Regions from separate parts of the Homo sapiens genome. Here region 1 is linked to region 2. Evidence: promoter capture Hi-C in human tissues and cell types (Jung and others, 2019). All regions are on one chromosome and are shown on one strand. Each heading gives the region's core, a stretch centred on a gene start or on the middle of the fragment in contact. The rest is flanking DNA. Distances are from core to core; before and after follow the strand shown.

The links. The method cuts DNA at HindIII sites, captures the fragments that hold promoters and counts their contacts. A contact is called where the count stands out against the background at its distance.
Region 1: a contact is called between a fragment that was not itself captured here and the fragment with the promoter of ERMARD in region 2, in 2 of the 25 tissues and cell types used here (lymphoblastoid cells and spleen).

What each region holds. Positions count from the first base shown.
Region 1 is chr6:168,978,122-168,983,693 of GRCh38, forward strand. The region is part of intron 2 of LOC105378145 (a long non-coding RNA gene); the gene reads left to right. Among named protein-coding and RNA genes, the nearest start is that of LINC01615, 180 kb to the right of the region's middle. RefSeq lists an enhancer at 1,033-1,675. The HindIII fragment of the contact is 3,803 bases long and covers 149-3,951 here.
Region 2 is chr6:169,747,715-169,753,249 of GRCh38, forward strand. ERMARD (ER membrane associated RNA degradation) reads left to right here and starts at 3,908. Exons shown (of 18, transcript NM_018341.3): 1 at 3,908-3,949. The coding sequence starts at 3,944. DYNLT2 (dynein light chain Tctex-type 2) reads right to left here and starts at 3,858. Exons shown (of 4, transcript NM_174910.3): 1 at 3,625-3,858. The coding sequence starts at 3,744. RefSeq lists a silencer at 845-1,045. The HindIII fragment of the contact is 9,893 bases long and covers 1-5,535 here.

The DNA of each region.
Region 1 (5,572 bases), core at 800-3,299, 770 kb before region 2:
AGTGAACAGGCAACCTACAAAATGGGAGAAAATTTTCGCAACCTACTCATCTGACAAGGGGCTAATATCCAGAATCTACAATGAACTCAAACAAATTTACAAGAAAAAAAAAAACAACCCCATCAAAAAGTGGGTGAAGGACATGAACAGACACTTCTCAAAAGAAGACATTTATGCAGCCAAAAAACACATGAAAAAATGCTCACCATCACTGGCCATCAGAGAAATGCAAATCAAAACCACAATGAGATACCATCTCACACCAATTAGAATGGCAATCATTAAAAAGTCAGGAAACAACAGGTGCTGGAGAGGATGTGGAGAAATAGGAACACTTTTACACTGTTGGTGGGACTGTAAACTAGTTCAACCATTGTGGAAGTCAGTGTGGCGATTCCTCAGGGATCTAGAACTAGAAATACCATTTGACCCAGCCATCCCATTACTGGGTATATACCCAAAGGACTATAAATCATGCTGCTATAAAGACACATGCACACGTCTGTTTATTGCGGCATTATTCACAATAGCAAAGACTTGGAACCAACCCAAATGTCCTACAATGATAGACTGGATTAAGAAAATGTGGCACAAATACACCATGGAATACTCTGCAGCCATAAAAAATGATGAGTTCATGTCCTTTGTAGGGACATGGATGAAATTGGAAATCATCATTCTCAGTAAACTATCACAAGAACAAAAAACCAAACACTGTGTATTCTCACTCATAGGTGGGAATTGAACAATGAGAACACATGGACACAGGAAGGGGAACATCACACTCGGGACTGTTGTGGGGTGGGGGGAGGGGGGAGGGATGGCATTGGGAGATATACCTAATGAGAGATGACGAGTTAGTGGGTCCAGCGCACCAGCATGGCACATGTATACATATGTAACTAACCTGCACATTGTGCACATGTACCCTAAAACTTAAAGTATAATAATAATAAATTAAAAAAAAAAAAGAAGAAGAAATGGGAACAAAAGAAAAAAAACTAAAAATCACTGACTTCCCTTGGATGAATCAGAGAATTAAGTTTGCAGAGCAAATTGCTATCTTCAAATCTCTCTCGAGAGATGAATACAGAGCATCACAGCTGAGATAAACTTACCTACAGCAGAAGCTGCAGGTGCTATCAATGGTAGCAACACTTAAATGGCATTTTGGTGAATTATCAGAGGCTGAGTTTGGACAAACGTGAGACTGAGAGACTCCAGGAAACGTATTCTTATGGAGACCTCAAAATTTTCCTGGGCTTTACAGCCAGGAAGAAAACCAGTTTCTGCTGGTGAAGATCTGAAAAAAAATCTTCTCAGGAAAGACCTCCTGTTGGCTCAGACAGGCGGATGGAAAGAGTAACAATTATAAACACAACTAGAGCCTTCTACATAACAAAAGGGTAAGGCCTTTGCAAGAGCCTTTCCAGAGCTAAAGGAAGGACAGTTATTCAACTTCAGCTCATTTTAGTTTTTATGTTTCACTTAAGGAAGAAAGGAAGCAAATAAACACTTGGAAAGTCACAGTCCAGGAACAGAGGACTTCTGAAACAGTTACTTTAGAAAAAATAGTTTATTCTAGATTATTTTAGAGTATCTGCCCATACTCTACCACCACATTAACAGGGATTCGATATAATAACAGTGGGTTACAGCAGAAAGAGTGTCAAGGAACAGACTCTCTCTGTGAAGGAGCACTTACAGAAGCTTATAGTATATGCTGCAGACCAAAACATGAAAACTAGAAACAATTAGACACCTACAATTAGATAAGATATTTAATGTATTCTGACTTCTAGCCAGATAAAATTAAAAGGCAGAGATGGTCAGAGTATATGAAAATAGCAAGATCCAACTATATGTTGTCTACAAGAAACCCAATTTTAAATACAGCCACTTACATAGAGCACAAGTAAAGTGATAGAGAAAGATCCATTATGCTAACACTAGTCAAAAGGAAGTTGGAGTAGCTACATTAAATTGAGACAAAACAGACTTTAGAACAAGGACAATTATCAAAGAAAAGAAGTGCATTGTCCAGCCCAGTGACCCAGCAGAAGACATGCCTCTCTGTACTCTGGAAGACAGGCTCATCAAACTTAGTCCCACTGTGGATCTTAGAGTAACTGTCACCCAATTTCAGTCCTACTCAGCTATAGTCCAGGGCAAGACCTTCCCACCCAGAGATCTGCCCAGTAACCCAGTGGGAACTACATCTACCTGTGCACTTGGTGGCAGGTAATCTACAGACCTAACTGTGGACCTTGAAATGAACTTTTGTCCACCAGCCCTATGGACCAAGGTTCCAGAAGCAGTCCAATTCATCCATAAACCAAGCAGGATCCATGCTTGCCAGCATCCCTGATAACAGGTCTGCCAACTGCAGAACCCACTTCAGACCCAGCAGTGGTCACCAAACTTGCCTCAAACTCCACTTTACTACAGTCCTAGAAGTAATTCCATCAGCCCAGGAAACTGGCAGAGAAAGGTCTTTACTTGCCATAACCAATCTTTAAAGACTGGTAGAGGTGTTTATTCTTTCAAAAGCACAGTAACCAATACAGGCTCTACGAATCTCAAAAAATCAGGCAAACAAAACACCATGAAAGGAATCTAATAAAGCTCCAGTAACCTATCCCAAAGAAATAGAGACCTAGAAATTACTTGACAATAAATTCAAAATAATCACCTTAATGAAGCTTAATGAGGTATAAAAAACACATATATACAACTAAACAAAAATCAGAAAAACAATGCATGGATAAAATGAGAATAAATAAACCAAAACCATAAAAAGAACAAATTCGAAATCCTGGAACTGAAGAATTCAATGACAGACTGAAAATTTAATGGAGAACTTCAACAGCAGACTCAGTCATATAGAGGAAAGACTCAGTATACTTGAAGACAGGTTCTTTGACATTAGCCAGTTAGAGGAAACAATAGAAAAACATTGGAGAAAGCATATAAAGCCTATGGGACACCATCAAACCAACAAATATAAACATTATGGAGGTTCCAGAAGGAAATAAGAGAGAGAAAGGGACAGGAAACTTATTTAAAGAAATTATTGGTAAAACTTCCCAAATTTTGGAAGAGATATGGACATCCAAATTCATGAGTCTCAATTATTGCCAATAAAAAAATCCAAAGAAAATTACTCTGAGACACTTTATATATAAACTGTCAAAACTCAAAGACAAAAATAACTTAGAAAGAAGCAAGAGAAAAGCTACTCATCACGTACAAGACAACTGTCACAAGGTTATCAGCAAATTTTTCAGACAAAATTTTGCAGGTGAGGGGGAAAGGGATAACACATAATCGTTTTAATGTGTTGGACTTAAAGAAAAAACTTCCTACCAAAAATACTTTACCTGAAAAAAACTGACCTTCAGAAATGAAGGAGACATAAAAACATTCCCAGACAAACTAAAGGTGAGGGAGATAATCACTACTAAACATGCCTTACAGGAAATGCTAAAAAAGGTTCTTCAAGTTTATTTGAAAGGATGCCAGGTAACAACGTGAAAACATATGGAAGTATAAAACTCACTTTAATGGAAAGAATATAGTCAAATCAGAATTCTCTGTTAGTGTAATGGGGGTGTATAATTACTTTTACTGTAATAAAAATGTTTAAGATAAAAGTATTAAAATAACTATAACTATAATAATTTGTTAATGAACATACAATATATAAAACATGTAAATTGTGATATCAACACCATTAAATGTGAGTGGAGAGGTTAAAATGTAGAGTTTTTATATGTAGACTATTTATAAGTTGTTTTATTTACCTCCTGGTAATCACACAATTAAAAAAAAGCACAGTAGATACACAAAAGAAAAAGAGAAGAGATGCAAACATATCACTACAAAAAATCATCAAATCATAAAGAAAAACAGCAAGAGGGGAGAAATGAAACAAAGATCTTTAGGATAAACAGAAAACAATTAACAAAGTGGCAGTAGTAAGTCCTTACATGTCAATAACTACTTTAAATGTACATGGATTGAATTCTCCAATCAAAAACATAAGTGGCTAAATGAGTACTTTTTAAAAAATTCAACTATATGGTACCTCCAAGAGACTTACTTTAACTTTGATGACACATATTGGTTGAAAGTGAAAAAATGCAAAAAGATATTCCATGCATGTGGTAACCAAAAGAGAGAAGGAGTGGCTATACTTGTACAAAACAGAATAGACCTTAAGTAAAAAGTATCACAAGACACAAAGTAGTCATCATGTAATAATAAAGAGGTCAATTCATTAATAGATTATAACAACTACAAGTACATATGCACTCAACGTTGGAACACTTAAGTATATAAATATATAGCCAAGACACTCTGGGGAATGAAGAACAAAGCCCGAGGCATTAGGGTTCCTGATAGCGAACTGCATTTTAAAGCCTTAATATGATACAGCATTACAAAGCAATATGATACTGTCATAAAAACAGACACACAGACTAATGGAACAGAATAGAGAGAACTGAAATAAACCCACACACATATTCTACTAAGTAATTTTTGGTCAGGGTGCCAAGCATACACAGTGTGGAAAGGATAGTCTCTTCAAATAAATGGTGTTTGGAAAAGTGAATATCCACAAGCAAAACAAAAGCAAAAACAAATTAAGCCCTTGTCTTACACCACACACACAAAAAATAACTCAAAAGGAAATGAATTTCAGACTTAAATGTAAGATCTGGAATAATAAAACTGTTAGGCAAAAACATAGGGAAAAATCTTCTTGACACTGATTGTGGCAATGAATTTAGTTATGTCACGAAGAACGCAAGCATTGCAAACAAAATACACAAGCAAGGCTGCACCCAAATCTTCTGCACATGAAACGTTTTCATCAGCACGTAGAACATTCCCAGAATAGACTATATCTTTGATCACAAAACAAGTCTGAACACATTTTAAAAGGAGAAATAATATTAAAAATCATTTCCAACCACAACAGAATAAAACTGGCAATCAATAACAAGAGGAGCTTGTTGGAAACTTTGCAAACGCGTGGAAATTAAACAATGTCCTCCTGAATGACCAATGAGTCAATGAAGAACATAAGAAGAAAATTTTAAAATTTCTTGAAGCAAATGAAAATGGACATACAACATACCAAAGCCTCCGGGATACAGCAAAAGCAGTACTAACAAGGAAGTTTATAGCAATAAAAGCTTATATCAAAAACTAGCAATACTTCAAATAAACAACCTAATAATGCACCTCAAGGAGATAGAGAAGCTAGAACAGACCAAATCCAAAATTAATAGAGGGAAAGACATAATAAAAATCAGCGCAGAGATAAATGAAGTTGAGACTAAAGTAAAATACAAAAGTTCAACATAATAGAAAGTTGGTTTTTTGAAAAGATAAACAAAATTGACAAATCTTTGGCTGGACTTAAATAAAACAGAGAAGATTCAAATAACATTAGAAACAAGAAAGAAGCCATTTCTGAGACCACAGAAATACAGTCATTAGAGACTATTTTGAACAACTATATGCCAACAAAATGGAAAAATCTTGAAGAAATGAATAAATTCCT
Region 2 (5,535 bases), core at 2,658-5,157:
TCTTAACTACTTTAATGTCTGTTTATACTAATTCTATTTTTGTGTAATTTCTGGGCTGTTTTTACTGCTTCTTCAATTTTGAACTTTATTTTCGTGCTTTTCTGTAGGTCTATTAATATTTAAAGACCAGACAGTGTGAATTTTACCTTCTTATAGGCTGGATATTTTTGTATTCCTAAGACTCTTGAGCTTTCTTCTAGAACAAAGACATTTGGAAACAGTTTAATCCTCTTTAGCCTTGCTTCTCAACCTTGATAAGCCAGATCAGAGAACTTGTTCTCTATTTTTTCCCACTACTGAGGCAATACACGTCTTAGCACGCTAACCAAAGCCCTGTATTTTTCATGATTTTCCACTTTTTCTGGTGGGAACATGTCCAAGGATTTTTTTTCTGTTCCTTTTGGGTGATTCTTTCTCCACCTCCACTCTCCACCTTTGGTGAGAAGCTTCCTCACCAGATGCACTGCTGCACTCAGCTGAATATTCTGGGAAACCCTCTGTAGGTCTTTGGGGCGGTTTGTGCATCCCTGTCTTAATACTCTGCTCTCCAGTCTCATGCTACCTTGGCTTCCCAGGCTCCTAACTCCTTTTGAAATAAAGGAGGCCTTTCCTTGTGTTGTAGCCTGGAAACTCTCACCAGGCAATTAAGGTGGGGGCAATATTGGGGTTCACCTTACCTATTTCTCATCTCTTGGAAATCACTCTCGTCCTGCCTGACACCTAAATCAATGGAAACAATTGTTCCATACATTTTTGTGTGTTACTTTAAGTAGTTTCTGATAAGAATTACTCCATATTGGCTGCGAGTAGAAGTCCCTCACATAAATAAATCTCTTCTTGTGATCATCTGTCAGGCTTCTGTGTCTCTTAACTGCAAAAGCAGCATTATTAGCTCCCTAAACCTCTTAAAAACAAAATCATTTTGTTCTTGTTTATTAAGAGAATGCTTCTCTAAGGCAGTGATTGGGACCTTCCTTTCCTCCACAATATACTCAAGGGATGCAACTACATAGTATCATTAACAGCGGCTTTCAACTGCAATGATTCTTAAGGAAATGGGGCATTCGTGTGTGGCCTGAAAATAACCATTAATGCTTCTAATATGCTGAAAATTTACATCTGTACCATTTCTCCTTTGTGTATAATATTGGCTGACTTGCTATACTTATTAAGAGTATTTTATTCCTTTTATTAAGAATCTTTATAATCTTTTTTAAATTGGGAATAGGCTTTAAATATGATCAACTTTTTGGCATCTAATAATACCTGAGTTTCTACTGATATAGCATTTCCTTATATTGAGCCTACATATAGCCCTAAAATAAAATGAGCTTGGGCAGGAGATATTACTTTTATTTCTAAATGCCACATGCTAGTGTTTAAGATTTTTTTTTTCTTTTCTGAGACAAGAGTCTCACTCTGTTGCCCAGGCTGGAGTGCAGTGGCATGATCTCGGCTCACTGCAACTTCCTCCTCCCGGGTTCAAGCAATTCTCGTGCCTCAGCCTCCCTGAGTAGCTGGGATTACAGGTGCCTACCACCAAGCCCGGCTAATTTTTGTATTTTTAGTAGAGACGGGGTTTTGGCATGTTGGCCAGGCTGGTTTTGAACTCCTGACCTCAGGTGATCCATCCGCCTTGGCCTCCCAAAGTGGGGATTACATGCATGGGCCACTGCACCCGGCTGTATTTAAGAATTTCAATGCATGTGCACAAGTGAGAACAATCACGTTTTCCAATTTTAGTAATCTACTTCGCATTTTGTTACCTTTGATCGCAACAACAGGAACTCATTCGTGTTAAGCCAAAGTATAATTTATTGGAAAGATACAGTTTACATAACAGCAGAGAAGGCTGATGAACCAGATTCAGAAAGACACAGGGAACACTTTAGCTTCTCATCTTCAATGTGAATAAACCTCAATCATTTTCTTTGCATTATTTCAAAGAATTCATCTAATTAGCTTAGTTTGGGTCTCATCCTTATTAAAAAGTTAAGGGAAGTAGCTGACAATCTCACCAAAGCTCTATACAATTGCAGATGAGTTAATTCTCTAAAAGTTAACTGAGGTGCTACCACTAGAAAAAAAGAAATGGAGGCAAGACAGATAAAATCAAGAGATGGTCATATTGATGAAACAGTATGTCTTAAATTTTCCTATGCTCCAAAATAGGGAAATTAACAGCTACCTTAAATTAGAAATAACTAAGTGAACAGTTTCCTCAGGTACATTTAGTGAGCATTTGTAGAGTCCTTTCTCAATTTCTTCCCAATTATTGTTCTATTCAAATTTCTCACCTCTAAAAGAATCAACTTTAAAGATAGCTATAATTGATCACATCCATATCAAATACTAATAATTACTTTGGTCCATGTCCCCTCACTCCCAGATTTTAACCTATATACCAGGTGCACCTATGTGTCTCCTCATTTTGAGTTCAGGCTCATTGAATTTTAAAGACCACTTCAGACCTCAGATAGGCAGTAAGTTTATAAAAGCCACCCTTGTCTGCCTCAATATATAGAAATTTTTCTTTACTGTTGGTGACCTGTTACTCAGACTCATTGCCAAGAAATACAGCATAGTGTTTGGGAGTGTGAAGTTTTAAGTCCAACTGATTTAGGTTTCTAGCCCTGCTCTGCTCTTTTTCTTAGCTGTGTAAACTTGGCCTGTTTGCTTTTCCTCCTTTATTTAGTTCGTTCTTTCCTCTGTAAAATGTAGACACCAGGGAAACAAGAACCTGAAATTTCGCCATTATTTTGAGAATTCTCTTTTTAAGAGTAATCTTAAAATGTTTTAGGGTCTTCAAAAAATTGTTTTGCCTGTCATCTCTATCTTCATCCTATTATAGGTCCACGAAGTAAGTACGAAGAGAAACCAGTATAGGCCAATTGGACCGAGTACTAGCATACAGGTTCTGGTCCCAGCTCTATCATTACAGCTTTGTATCCTTGGGCAAACTAATTTTCTGTTAAAGTATCAATAAAATATAGAGTCTTTAATACATTAACGGTTTTCAAAGCCTAATCATATAGAAATACCTGTTATACCACCAATAAAACTGAATAATGACCCTTTCCATCAATATCAGTAAGTTTTGGACAGGGTATTTTCAACTTAAGTTTTTTTCTCCTGTACATTCTTCAAATATCCAGACTGCTGATGTTTTAAAAACCCAAAACATGGCACTATTCTGCCTGGTTTATCAAATTATTTTTTTAATACAACACACTCATTTTTCGCTAGCAAAACTGCTTATAATGGCACTAAATACACTAACATACTGTGTTTTAGTACAAAGCAATAATACTCAGAGTACTCTCAGGAAATCCGCAAGCTGAGTAAATTTGAAAAGAAGATCTTGTAACCACCCTTCCAATCGACTTATGTAGGGTTCTATGGCCCTAATTAAAAAACAAGAAAACTTTAGCACTCAAGTCCAAAGGGGACTGCCCAACTCAGTCTCAGGCTTCAATTTCGCATCTGGGGAAAAAAGAAACACAAAAGGGAGATGCTGCCTCCTTGGCTCTGGGGGTGGTGACGGGAGCGGGGCCCACTGGGGAGCGATTTCACTTAAACGGTCGGACATAGCCGTCTCGGGCCCCTAGCAGTCTCCGCACTCACTGCCTCCTTCTCGAACATGCTAGGCCTCCTTTCTTTCCTAGGCGTCACCGGAGCCTGCTGAGGGGTCTGGTTCGGGGTCTGGATGGGGCTCGACTTCACGCCTCGGCCTCGCTTCTCCATCTCGCTCTGTTCTCCAAGACGCCCACCGCCTCCCCTTCACCGCCGGCGGTCAAACGCCCTAGCCAGTCCCGCGAGGGCGGAAGTCTCCCACCTGCGCCTCGTACGGTAGGAAGTGCCCGCCAGGGCTCCAAAGCGCCTGGAGGAGGGGCGCGCAGGCGCCTGCGTCATTCACGCGCGCCGCAGCGGGGCACCGGAAGTTATGGAGGTAGGGCGGGTGTAGGGCCCGGTTCGATCCCGAGCTAGGCAGGGAGTCGGCGCCAGGCTGGGTGGTGCTCGGCTACGCGGAGTGGGCGAGCGAGCACGCGCCTGCGGTGGCCGGCGGTCCCGCGCTGGAGGGCGCTGGCGACGTCGCGGCCCTGGCCTCTGTGGCGGTATCGGACGCTCGGCCCTGCAAGACGCCTGGCGGGCCCTGCCGGCCTCCCTGGGCCAGGCTCGGTTTCTCCGTCGCCTCCTGGCCCTGAGCTGGAACGCGGCGGACGGTCAGGGAGGGCTGTGCGCGGTGGCGCGGGGGCGGAAAGCCGCAGGTCGGGCTCTCACCTGACCGTGGCTCGTTCCTAGAAGCGCAGTTTCCTAGTCGCTGCCTGTAGGGTCCACACTCGGACAGTAAATTTGTGTTCATCGCCGGGCGTGGTGGGGCCTGTGGTCCCATCTACTCCGTAGGCTGAGGTGGAAGGATCGCTTTAGCCCAGGAGGTGGAGGCTGCAGTGAGCCGAGATCGCGCCACTGCACCCCTGTCTGGGCGACGGCGAGACCCCGTCTCCAAAATGATGATAACGATAACTACCATTTTTGAGTACTATGTGCTAGATGCTTTTCATGTGTTATCTGATTACTGTAGCCCTACCAGGTGCAGCCTGGCACCGTTTTATTTCACTTAGAACTGAGATTCCGATAAAGTAACTTTTCCAAGGCAAGAGGTAGTCAGAGGCTGAGGAATGATTCAAATTTAAGTCCAGCTCCAAAGCACCGGCCCAGTGTAGTCTGCAGAGTTCCAGCCCCATAGAGCCACATGGAGGATGCGAGTGACAATCGCCAATCAACAAATAGTTGATGTAGATTTCTTTAGTGATGACTTAATTGTTAGGGCCTGCTGGGATTGTTCGAAAACCAGGGCTGAGAGTGGAAAGTGCAACTTCTGGGTGCAGGAGGAGCAAACAGGGCAACTGATAGCAGTTTCCACATTAGGAAGCTGCCCAGAGCTAATTATGACTGTCACAACACAGCCCCCCCTTAACTCAACACACCAAAATAAAGAGCTTCGGTTCCGCTTTAGATCCTGAATTTGACTTCTTTGCAGGTTTATACGATGGTCTTAGTGTCATGTGGGGTAATTGTGAGGATTTCGATTGTATTTAATTCTCCATGGAAAACCAGTACGGTTTGCTACTTTTTACATGGCAGGGAAGGCTAAACTTTACCTCTGCCCATCTTAGTTCGGAGTGACCCCTTTAACAAATGAAAGGATAACAAGAAAAAAGTTTATTCTTGGACAGAGTACACATCACAAGGGATAAACCTTAATGAGAAGTAACTTGAAATGGTGGCTTAGAACTACATTTGTATACCATCTTCAACAAAGAACTGTAGATTTGCAGAGAAGTGACAGGACACAGGAGAGCAGTTTTAGGCTTCAAAGGGCAGGAAATTGGGAAGGTAGATACATATTCGGAAACTAATGGAGTAAGAATTGTTTGCAGATTCCCCTGGTACCTTAACTGGTCTGGTAAGTCTAAAGTTATCCCCAGTAAAGAATTTATATCCTGTCTTTGGGCGGAAGAGGGGGAGGATAGA